Linked DNA regions of Homo sapiens: regions 2, 3 and 4 are each linked to region 1. Evidence: promoter capture Hi-C in 16 types of primary human blood cells and fetal thymus (Javierre and others, 2016). All regions are on one chromosome and are shown on one strand. The core of a region is centred on a gene start or on the middle of the fragment in contact, and the rest is flanking DNA. Distances in the headings are between cores, read along the strand shown. Region 1 holds the start of RRAGA (Ras related GTP binding A). Region 2 overlaps DENND4C (DENN domain containing 4C). Region 3 overlaps DENND4C (DENN domain containing 4C). Region 4 has its middle 24 kb from the start of DENND4C.

Region 1 (2,565 bases), core at 39-2,538:
GCAGCACACACTTCAAAGCCCACTTTTAAGCACACGACATTATGAATATTAAAAATAAAGGATGCAAACAAAAAAGGCAATTCAGCATTTTCAGAAAGAGCATTTGGCAATATTCAACGCATAAGGAGACTGTGCTTGGGGCCATCCACTCTCTCCAGCTTCTCAAAGTGTTTCCGGGCATTGCGAATGTTGATCAGAGTGGCCGCAGAAGGGATCGACGGATCTGACATGACCACCATCACGTACGTATTTGAGGTGAAGATGTCGATGAAAGCAGCGAAGTTGGAATTCCTAACTTCCATGCTCTGGAAGGAAGCGGCCAATTTACTGCAGCTCAGCTTGAACTGTTTGATGATGTTGCTGATCTTCTCAAACCGGTGGACGTCGCGCTGCTCTTTGCACTGGTAGTGGGAAATAACCAAGAATGTAGCTCTTTCGAACAGCAGAACTTCATCGGCCTCAATGATTTGGGCAAAATTCCTGAGGTTCATCTCCAGCTGCTGAACGTTGGGAATCAGCTGGTAGACGATGCTGGACCAGGCTTTGTAGAGCGTCTCATCCCAGATGGACGTTCGAAAACAAGCACACTCCAGCGGGCGAGACAGACGCCTCAGGTCTTCCTCTCGCTCTTTAAAAATCAGGTCACGCTGATCCTCCTGAACCAGATCCATTTTGTGCACCAGGCAGAAGATTTTGGCGTCAGGAGAGTTCTGGAGGATGGCCTCCAGACACGACTGGTAATAATGCATGTCCTTTTCCAGTTCGCGGCTCTCCACGTCAAACACGTAAATCAAAACTTCCACGTTACGGAAGATATTGTCTCGCTGGCTGGTGAAGTAATTTTCCATGAAGGTGTCCTGACCGCCACAGTCCCACAGGTTCAGCACCAGGTTCCCTAGGAATCGGACGTGGGAGTGTTCCACGTCAATGGTGGCCCCCAGGCGCCGGGTGTCGCGAGCAATGTAATTGGCGAAGATTATCGACCTCATGCTGGTCTTCCCCGACCCGCTCTTCCCCATCAGCAGCACCTTTTTCTTCATGGCTGTATTTGGCATCACCCGCCGGGGCACCGCGGACTGGGCCTGAGGGCGCGGCCTACACGCAGCGCCGAGGGAGGGGTCGGGGGCTGCCGGGGACTCGCAGGCCGCGCCTCGCTCCGCTCCGCCGCGCAGCTGGGCAGGCAGGAGAGTCGAGAGCGCGAACCCGGGGCTGGAGAGGCCGCGGACGGGCTGGCTCTTACTCAGATGGGAGCGCCCGCGGCTGTCAGTGGCAACGGCTCGGGAGATACGCTCGCTTTCCGGGAGGGAGCCGCTGCGTCCCCGCCACCACCCACTTCCGGCGGCGATCTCGCGAGAGCTCCCTCGCTCCGCCCTCCGTGCCCGACGAGCCTTGAAAAGCCGCTGCTCTAATGAAACCTAACCGGGGCGGCGTGAGCCCTAAGATGGAAGGGAAGCTCGAGGACTTCGGTCTTTTGTTCTGTTGCAGCTGGGTTTGCTGTTGCTAGGGGTACGTGTGTGGTTGGCCGGGGGAAATGCTGCCCTCTCGTGGCCAAAAAAAGCCCCAACCGCCACCACCACCGCAACTGGCTTTAGGAGCGAGGTGTGTCGGGCCGGTTTCCGCAGGGGCAGCCGACTGGTGAAGTGGAGGGAAAGCCTAACTTCCCAGTCCGCTTAGGCCTCCCCAGCTTGCCCGGCCCAGTGAGTACAAGGGCAGGGCAGATGGAGACTGTGCAGGCGCGGAAAGTGAGACTTGTAGGCAAGCGATTGCCTGTTGCTGCGCAGCTAGGTAATAGCAAGTCCCTCCTAGGAGACATCCTGGCTTCCAGTGGGTGCTTTTAATTCCTTTCTCACATCTGCTTTTCCGTAATCTCAGACTTTAGAATTTATAATTAGAATTCCAAAGCTCGAGGAAATGATAATGTGGAATCCCAGGCATTAGTTCCATCCTCACAGTAACCCTGTGAATTAATAACCCTATTTTCAAGTTAGGGAATCAAAGGTTAGAGAGGTTAAGTCACTTGACCAAGTTACACAGATACTAAATGATGAAATGGAATTTGGTTTTAGACAATCTTGCTGCGGTCTATTTGCCTAACAATAGGCTACCCTGTGCCCCTCTCAAAGCATAATATGATTCTGCTCTTGGTCTTCAAGTAGATGAGTGAATCAGTGTCGCCAGTATCGTTCATACAGAATGAATGAGAGTCATCAGGATACTGAAGCCTCTGTATCTACCTTAAAGTCCTTTTTTTTTCTTTTGAGACGGAGTCTCACTCTGTTGCCCAGGCTGGAGTGCAGTGGCGCGATCTCAGCTCACTGCAACCTACGCCTCCTGAGTTCAAGCGATTCTCCTGCCTCAGTCCCCCAAATAGCTGGGATTGTGGGCACCTGCCACCACGCCCGGCTAATTTTTGTATTTTTAGTGGAGACGGGGTTTCACTATGTTGGCCAGGCTGGTCTGGAACTCAAGCCAGCCACCTGCCTCGGCCTCCTAAAGTGTGGGATTACAGGCGTGAGCCACCGTGCCTGGCCTAAAGCCCTTATCAAAGTGTATACTGTACTGTAC
Region 2 (2,565 bases), core at 28-2,527, 250 kb before region 1:
TCAGTCCTAACAGCACTTCTTCAACCAGATTAAGATCTTGGAGACATACCCCATTTGTTGTTTTAACAAGTATTTACTGAGGGCCTACTCTGTGCTAGGCAACTGTAACAAGTGCTGAAAATACAGGAGTAAACAAGAGATTAGGTCCTTACTCCCAGGAGACTTACATTCTTAAAATGGGGAAGGGAAGAGAAGAGAGTCAGCTATTTTAAATTAAACAACTAATGGGTGATAGGGTTGGAGAAGTGGACCATCTAAAGTTCTATACAATGGCCTATAAAGCCCTATACAATCAGACTTCATTCTTCAGTCTTTTTTTTTTTTTTGAGACGGAGTTTCACTCTAGTTGCCCAGGCTGGAGTGCAATGGTGTGATCTCAGCTCACCATAACCTCCGCCTCCTGGGTTCAAGCAATTCTCCTGCCTCAGCCTCCTGAGTAGCTGGGATTATAGGCATGTGCCACCACACCCGGCTAACTTTGTGTTTTTAGTAGAGCAGGGTTTCTCCATATTGGTCAGGCTGGTCTCGAACTCCTGACCTCAGGTGATCCGCCTACCTCAGCCTCCCAAATTGCTGGGATTACAGGTGTAAGCCACCATGCCTGTCAATCAGACTTCATTCTAAGTGCAATGGGAAGCCAAAGGGTTTTAAGCAGGGAACAACTTTAATTTCTTAACAATTTAACAATTTAATTTTATTTACGCTTTACACAAGAGCTAAGCCTCTGTATATTATCCTATTTCACAATCACTTAGAATTTCCTGTATATTACTGATTCACAATTATTAAAAGTTAAAATAGGGAGAAATTAACCATGTAATCATTTGCATAATTTTAGAACAGCTGAAATTGGCCAGAGCCTCTCAATACAACCAGCTTCATTCTCAGGTTTTATTATATAATCATATAGTTTTTACTCTGGGAAGAACTCAAAAATATGAAAAATTGGAAATTGACGTTTTTCCTAAAATAGAAATCACCTTTGTTTTCTTTATATTTCCTACTTCTCTTTGCCAGCAGATTATATTCAACTTTTACTGGGCTGGAAATTTTTCAAAGTTCCTTTTTTTAAATTTGTTGTTGTTTACAAAGTTGCTGTTTTTGAAGAAAATTTCCCTTTGGAGTAAAAATTATGTCAGTAATTTTGTACTAAAAGGAAAATTCTATACTTACAGCTACAACAGCTTCAGCTACCCCAGTCAAGACAGCTGGCCTAAGAGAATGCAGCAGAATTTTACTCTCAAGTAAAACAAAGAGCAGCAGTGTTGCACAATTCTCAGGACCCAGATTCATTAGCAAGGTGCTAAAGTTGGCTCCACTAGGGAAAAAAAAGAGAAAAGTAGATCATTGTGAACTATTTTGCTGAAATATGTTAAGATTTGCTTATTAAAGTATCAACAGATTGAGAGTCTAGTGTTAATTTCTAGTCTTTACTTATTTATCAATGAAAAGTAGCAAATTTAATAAGATAGATAACGGGGTGATTTAAACTCATCCTCTGGTAATAAAAGGCATTTATCAAGAAAGATTTTCCTGAACAGCCATTTGAGTTGAGCTCAGAAGAATGGAGACAAGGATGGGAGTGAAGGGGTGACAGACAATATATGCAAGGGCCCTGGGGCAAGAAAAAGCTGTTGTCATAGCCAAGAAATTGAAATAAATCTATTGTGACTAAAGCATAGTAAGGGAAAGGGTGAAAACAGCAACAGATTAGGCTGAAATTGAAATATACTATTATATTTGCGTTTTCAAAAGGACACACTGGCTACAGGGTGGATAAAGAACTAAAGGAAGATAAGTAAAAAGGTACCAATTAAGAGGCTAATAGTGAAATAGTCTGGTAAGACATCAAGGAAGCCTACTATGATGCAGATGAAAAGAAGTAAAAGGATTTGAGACATTTAAAAGGTTAAAATCAGCTCACCTTAAACCTTTAGTTATGAACTGGATATGGGAAGGGGAGATGAGAAGAAAAGGGAAGTATCCTCTACATCCAATCTTGCAACTCTCTTAATTGTTCCCATTTATAAAATAGCCCCACCATCCACCCAGTTACCAAAGTCAGAAACATTAAGGCTATTTTTGCCTAGTTTTAACTAATAAAGTTAATTGTAAAATAACAATCACTAATATATTAATAATATACTAATCACTAAAATATTTTAAAGCATTCTGCTCCAACTGAATAAATATATCATTTTAAATACCAGTAATTACCTTAGTGGTAAAGGTGTAGAAACTGGCTGTGATAATATTAATGCATCATGGACTGACAGCTTAAAAAAAAAAAAAAGATAAATTAACCAAAGATAAATTAACCAAACCAAGAGATAAGTTTCAAAACTACTTTTGAAATCTATATATTTAGATCAAAGGTAATATTGAAAACATTAATAATTTAATATGCAAACACACTTTTGGAAACAGGTACTAAAATATAAAATGATAGCTGTATTTACTCAGAAGTGTTACATTAGTTCTTTTTCATTAAATGGTTAATTTGACTGAATTTTGATTCACTTAATTGGTTAAAGTACAATTATTTAAAATTTATGGAACTACTGC
Region 3 (2,565 bases), core at 49-2,548, 230 kb before region 1:
CTCCACCTCCTGGGTTCAAGTGATTCTCCTGCCTCAGCCTCCCAAGTAGCAGGAACTACAGGTGCTCGCCACCATGCCCAACTAATTTTTGTATTTTTTTAGTAAAGAGGGGGTTTCACCATGTTGGACAGGCTGGTCTTGAACTCCTGACCACAAGTGATCGGCTTGCCTCCGCCTCCCAAAGTGCTGGGATTACAGGCGTGAACCACCACACCGGGCCCTTGCTCATTTTTATTTTTATTTTTTGTGAACTCCTGGCCTCAAGCAATCCTCCTCCCACCTCAGCCTCCCAAAGCGTTGGGATTAGGGAGGCTGGAGTGCAGTGGTGTGATCTTGGTTCACTGCAACCTCCGCCTCCCGGGTTCAAGTGATTCTCCTGCCTCAGCCTCCTGAGTAGCTGGGACTACAGGCGCACACTGCCACACCCAGCTAATTTTTGTATTTTTAGTAGAGATGGGGTTTCATCATGTTGGCCAGGATGGTCTTGATCCCTTGACCTTGTGATCCGCTTGCCTCGGCCTCCCAAAGTGCTGGGATTACAGGTTAGCTGGGATTACAGTGTAAGCCACCACACTGGACCAGAATACAGATTGTGATTCAGTAGGTCTGGAATAGTGCCTAAGTTTCTGAGTTTCTAACAAGCTTCCAGGTCTTTTGGACAATACTGGTCCATGGGCTACAATTTGAATAGTTAGGCCCTTAACTATCTTCCCCTTCCCTTAAAGTCAAGCTTCTGGGGGGGCAGAGTGGAGGGGGCCTTTATTAATCCAATTCCCAGTCATTTCTGAACCCTGTCTTTCTAACCTGGCTCATATGCTCAATGACCCTATAAAGCTGAAAGATCACCATCCTAACTATACTGACTTGAAGGAAAACTACAGTAGCTAAATAGGATGGACAATACTAAAGGAGTTAAACGAATGCTGCATAAAGGTCAAGTAAGATAAAGACAAATCATCCTTTGGTTTTAAAAATTTGAAAATGAGGACTTTTTAAACTTTTTTCTCTTTTTCAGCCTGAGTTGTTACACACTCCTTCGTGGATTCCGACTTCCATGGAGTATGAGGATCTTTATAACAATTTCGCCAGAGCTCTAATGCAACAAGAGTGGGTGATGAGCGTAACAAGTGGTGGTCAAATGGCTACCCCTTAATACCTGAACAACTATAAAGAGAACAATCAGTGGCCAGGTGTGGTAACTCACGCTTGTAACCCCAGCACTTTGGGAGGCAGATCCCCTAAGGTCAGGAGTTCAAGACCAGCTTTGCCAATATGGTGAAACCCTGTCTCTGCTACTAAAAATACAAAAATTAGCCAGGCATAGTGGTGCACGCCTGTAATCCTAGCTACTCAAGAGGCTGAGGCAGGAGAATCACTTGAACCCGGGAGGCGGAGGTTGCAGTGAGCCAAGATTGCGCCACTGCACTCCAGCCTGGGCAACGAAGCCAGACTCTGTCTCAAAAACAAACAAACAAAAAACAACCACAACAACAAAAAGAGAACAACCAGCAACCAAGTGTTCAAAAAAAAAAAAAAAAGAAAAAAAAGGCTTCATGAATTAGAAAAATTTGGATATGTGATAATATTAAGGAATTAATCATTTTTTAAGGTATGGTATCATAGTTATATTAAAAGAAAGATTCAACAAAAGAAAATCAATGTAATACATGACACTAAGAGAACAAAGGAAGAAAAAATACATGATCATCTCAATTGACAAAAGGCATCTGACAAAATTTAACACACTTTCCTGATAAAATCTCTCAGAAAACTAGGAATAGAAGAACATTTCCTCAACATGATAAATGGTATTTAAGGAATATTTACAGTTAACATCATACTCAATAGTAAAAGACTGAAAGCTTTCCACCTAAAATCAGGAATGAGACAAGATGCCTGCTTTCACCACTGCTATTCAACATACTAAAAGTTCTAGCCAGAGTAATTACACACACACACACACACACAAAGCATCCAAACTGCAAAGGAAGGAGTAAAACTATTTCTATTTGCAGATGACATGATCCTATATATTTAAAAAAATCCCGAAGAACCCACAAGTTATTAGAACTAATAAATTCGGCAAAGTTGCAGAGTGCAAGATTAGCACACAAAAATCAGCTATTTCTATACACCAGCAACAAACAATCCAAAAATTAAGAAAACAACACTATTTATAATAGAATCCAAAAGAATAAAATACCTAGAAATAAAATTAATCAGATTTAAAAAATACACAATGTTGCTGAAAGAAATTAAAGAAGACCTAAACCAATGGAAAACATTCCACGTTCACAAGCTGAATCGTTTAATATTGTAAAGATGACAATACTCTGCAGATTAATCTAAAGTTAATGTAATCTCTATCAAAATTCCTACTACACATTTTGTATAAATAGATAAGCTGATCCTAAAATACTTGCCAGGATGTTCCCAAATATCTATATTTTAGTAATGGTAATGATAATAAACAAAACACCCCAATACATCACATGTATATATGGTAAAGTGTTATAGGTATTCTAAAAGCACATCCTTTTTACAGAAGAGTCAAGGTAGCCATTT
Region 4 (2,565 bases), core at 22-2,521, 160 kb before region 1:
TTTGAGAAGATTTTTACCCCAGATAGATTTCCCGCCAGCTTGCAACAGTGCCTGAAATTCCACAAGAAATATTCATATCTTTTTGTCTTGAAAGGAACTCAAGCTAGCTATTAAAATGTATTCGTGTGTGTGTGTGTGTGTGTGTGTGTGTGTGTGTGTGTGTGTGTGTGTTTTAAAAGGTTAACAATAATTTTCTGGAGAGAATGGATATAATGGTTATTTTTATATTCTTCATACTTTAACCTATTTTAAAATTTTTCTACAGGAAAGATATACACTTCTATTATCAGAAAAAAAATGCTATAGCAATTTTTATGAGGCCAGGTGTGGTGGCTCACACCTGTAATCCCAACACTTTAGGAGGCTGATTGCTTAAGGCCAGGAGTTTGATACAAGCCTGGGCAACATAGCACGACTCTGCCTCTACAAAATAAAACTAAAAAAAAATTATACACTCAAAGATGAGAAAAATCTAAAGCCATTATCAGATAGCAGCTTATTGAATGTATATTTCTCAAACCTTTTATGTTAATGCTAGGCAGCTAGAACCCAGACCTTTTCAGAAATTCGCATAAGATCCCAAAAGGAAGTAAATCCTCATATTGATAATGTTCTTGTTCTTAAGCAGAGTGTTTATTCTATTATATTTAACAACACATTCTTTTGTATGTATCAAATATTACACTCAAATTTTTCTTTTTTTTAATCCTGAAAGGGCCAAAGATAAACTTCCTGTTTCCCCAGTATTTGCCCAAGCCTCCCATGGCAGGACTCACATACAGGGCCTTTTTTACAGCTAATGCTGCTATAAGTAGCATTTCTAAAAGCATTTCAGAAACTATGCCGGGCACAGTGGCTCACACTTGTAATCCCAGCTCTTTGCAGGCTGAGGCAAGAGTGTGGCTTGAGCTCAGGAGTTTGAGGCCACAGTGAGCTATGATCATGCCACTGCACTCCAGCTTAGGTGACAGAGCAAGACCCTTTCTGTAAAAATAAAAAGTATTTGAGAAACTGGAACAGATAAGACAGACCAATATTACGCTCAAGTTTTCCTCATATTATGGTAAAGTTGAAATTATTGAACTAGGCTGGGCATAGTGGCTAACACCTGTAACCCTAAGAACTTTGCAAGACTAAGGCAGGAGGATTGCTTGAGCCCAGGAGTTCAAGGCCAGCCTGGGCAGCATAGTGATAATCTGTCCCTAAAAAAAAATAATAATAACCATACCTGGCCAACATCGTGAAACCATGTCTCTACTAAAATACAAAAATTAGCTGGGTTTTTTGGTGCATGCCTGTAATCCCAACTACTTGGGAGGTTAAGGCAGAAGAATCACTTGAACCCGGGAGGCAGAGGTTGGAGTGAGCTGAGATTGCCCCACTGCACTCCAGCCTGGGTGACAGAGTGAAACTTCTTTTCTGAAACTGTCTCAAAAAAATAAAAATTAAAAGGCCAGGCGCGGTGGCCTACGCCTGTAATCCCAGCATTTTGGGAGGCCAAGGCGGGCAGATCACAAGGTCAGGAGATCGAGACCATCCTGGCTAATATGGTGAAACCACATCTCTACTAAAAATATAAAAAATTAGCCAGGTGTGGTGGCAGGCGCCTGTAGTCCCAGCTACTCGGGAGGCTGAGGCAGGAGAATGGCGTGAACCCAGGAGGCGGAGGTTGCAGTGAGCCGAGATCGAGCCACTGCACTCCAGCCTGGGCGACAGAGCGAGACTCCATCTCAAAATAAATAAAATTAAATTAAAATTAAAAAATAAATATTAAAATTCAATGTAAAACAATTAAGTTATGATGATAAACATCATACGATATCAACTCACACAAGATTCATGGTCCTTTTCAATGTCAGGTAAATTCATCCTTGATTTCATGAAAATCCAGGGATTAAAGCAGAGTAGTTTCATCTAAGTGCAGCTAATGTCTATTCCATTTTCAGGTATGTCCGTGGAGAACATACCTGAAAATGATATGTTCATGGAGAATCAACTTGCCTTTCATTCACTTCAACTTGTCTTTCATTCAAATATTCAGATATTTCATTTCAGATATTTCCTGAGCCATATGTTAGGTGCATGCCAAATTCATGCTGGGGATATTGTGTTGAACAAACCAGGCATGGTTCCTGCCCTCACGGAGTTTACAGCCTAGTGTGGTCCTAGCATACCGCCATGCCAATAATGTGCAGTTGTTTTTCTTTTTTTCCAGAAGGATCTCACTCTGTTGCCTACGCTAGAGTGCAGTGGTGCAATCATAGCTCACTGCAGCCTCCAACTGCTCGCTCAAGCAATCCTCTTACCTCAGCCTCCCAAGTAGCTGGGACTACAGGCATGTGCCACCATAATCAGCTGATTTTTTAAAAATTTTTTTGTAGAAACAGGACCTCACTTTGTTTTCTGGGATGGTCTTTTATTATTATTATTATTATTATTGTTTTTTTTTTTTTTTTTGAGATGGAGTCTTGCTCTGTTGCCAGGCTGGAGTGCAATGGCGTGATCTCGGCTCACTGCAGTCTCCACCTCCTGGGTTCAAGCGATTCCCCTGCCTCAGCCTCCCAA

Evidence for each region. The method cuts DNA at HindIII sites, captures the fragments that hold promoters and counts their contacts. A CHiCAGO score of 5 or more calls a contact.
Region 2: a contact is called between a fragment that was not itself captured here and the fragment with the promoter of RRAGA in region 1, in 5 of 17 cell types (naive CD8 T cells, total CD8 T cells, erythroblasts and 2 more). The highest score is 8.9, in naive CD8 T cells.
Region 3: a fragment that was not itself captured here is called in contact with the fragment with the promoter of RRAGA in region 1 in 1 of 17 cell types (M0 macrophages); the score reaches 5.8 in M0 macrophages.
Region 4: a contact is called between a fragment that was not itself captured here and the fragment with the promoter of RRAGA in region 1, in 1 of 17 cell types (monocytes). The highest score is 6.0, in monocytes.

Annotation. Positions count from the first base shown.
Region 1 is chr9:19,048,150-19,050,714 of GRCh38, reverse strand. It overlaps RRAGA (Ras related GTP binding A), which reads right to left and starts at 1,288. Exons shown (of 1, transcript NM_006570.5): 1 at 1-1,288. The coding sequence starts at 1,055. The coding sequence ends at 114. It also overlaps a transcript of SAXO1 not described here. RefSeq lists a silencer at 1,030-1,219 and an enhancer at 827-1,348. The HindIII fragment of the contact is 15,757 bases long and covers 1-2,565 here.
Region 2 is chr9:19,298,940-19,301,504 of GRCh38, reverse strand. DENND4C (DENN domain containing 4C) reads right to left here. Exons shown (of 33, transcript NM_001330640.2): 8 at 2,218-2,276; 9 at 1,174-1,318. Among named protein-coding and RNA genes, the nearest start is that of DENND4C, 70 kb to the right of the region's middle. The HindIII fragment of the contact is 2,600 bases long and covers 1-2,565 here.
Region 3 is chr9:19,277,048-19,279,612 of GRCh38, reverse strand. All of the region lies in intron 2 of DENND4C (DENN domain containing 4C), which reads right to left. Among named protein-coding and RNA genes, the nearest start is that of DENND4C, 48 kb to the right of the region's middle. The HindIII fragment of the contact is 1,132 bases long and covers 733-1,864 here.
Region 4 is chr9:19,205,489-19,208,053 of GRCh38, reverse strand. No RefSeq gene overlaps it. Among named protein-coding and RNA genes, the nearest start is that of DENND4C, 24 kb to the left of the region's middle. The HindIII fragment of the contact is 5,053 bases long and covers 1-2,565 here.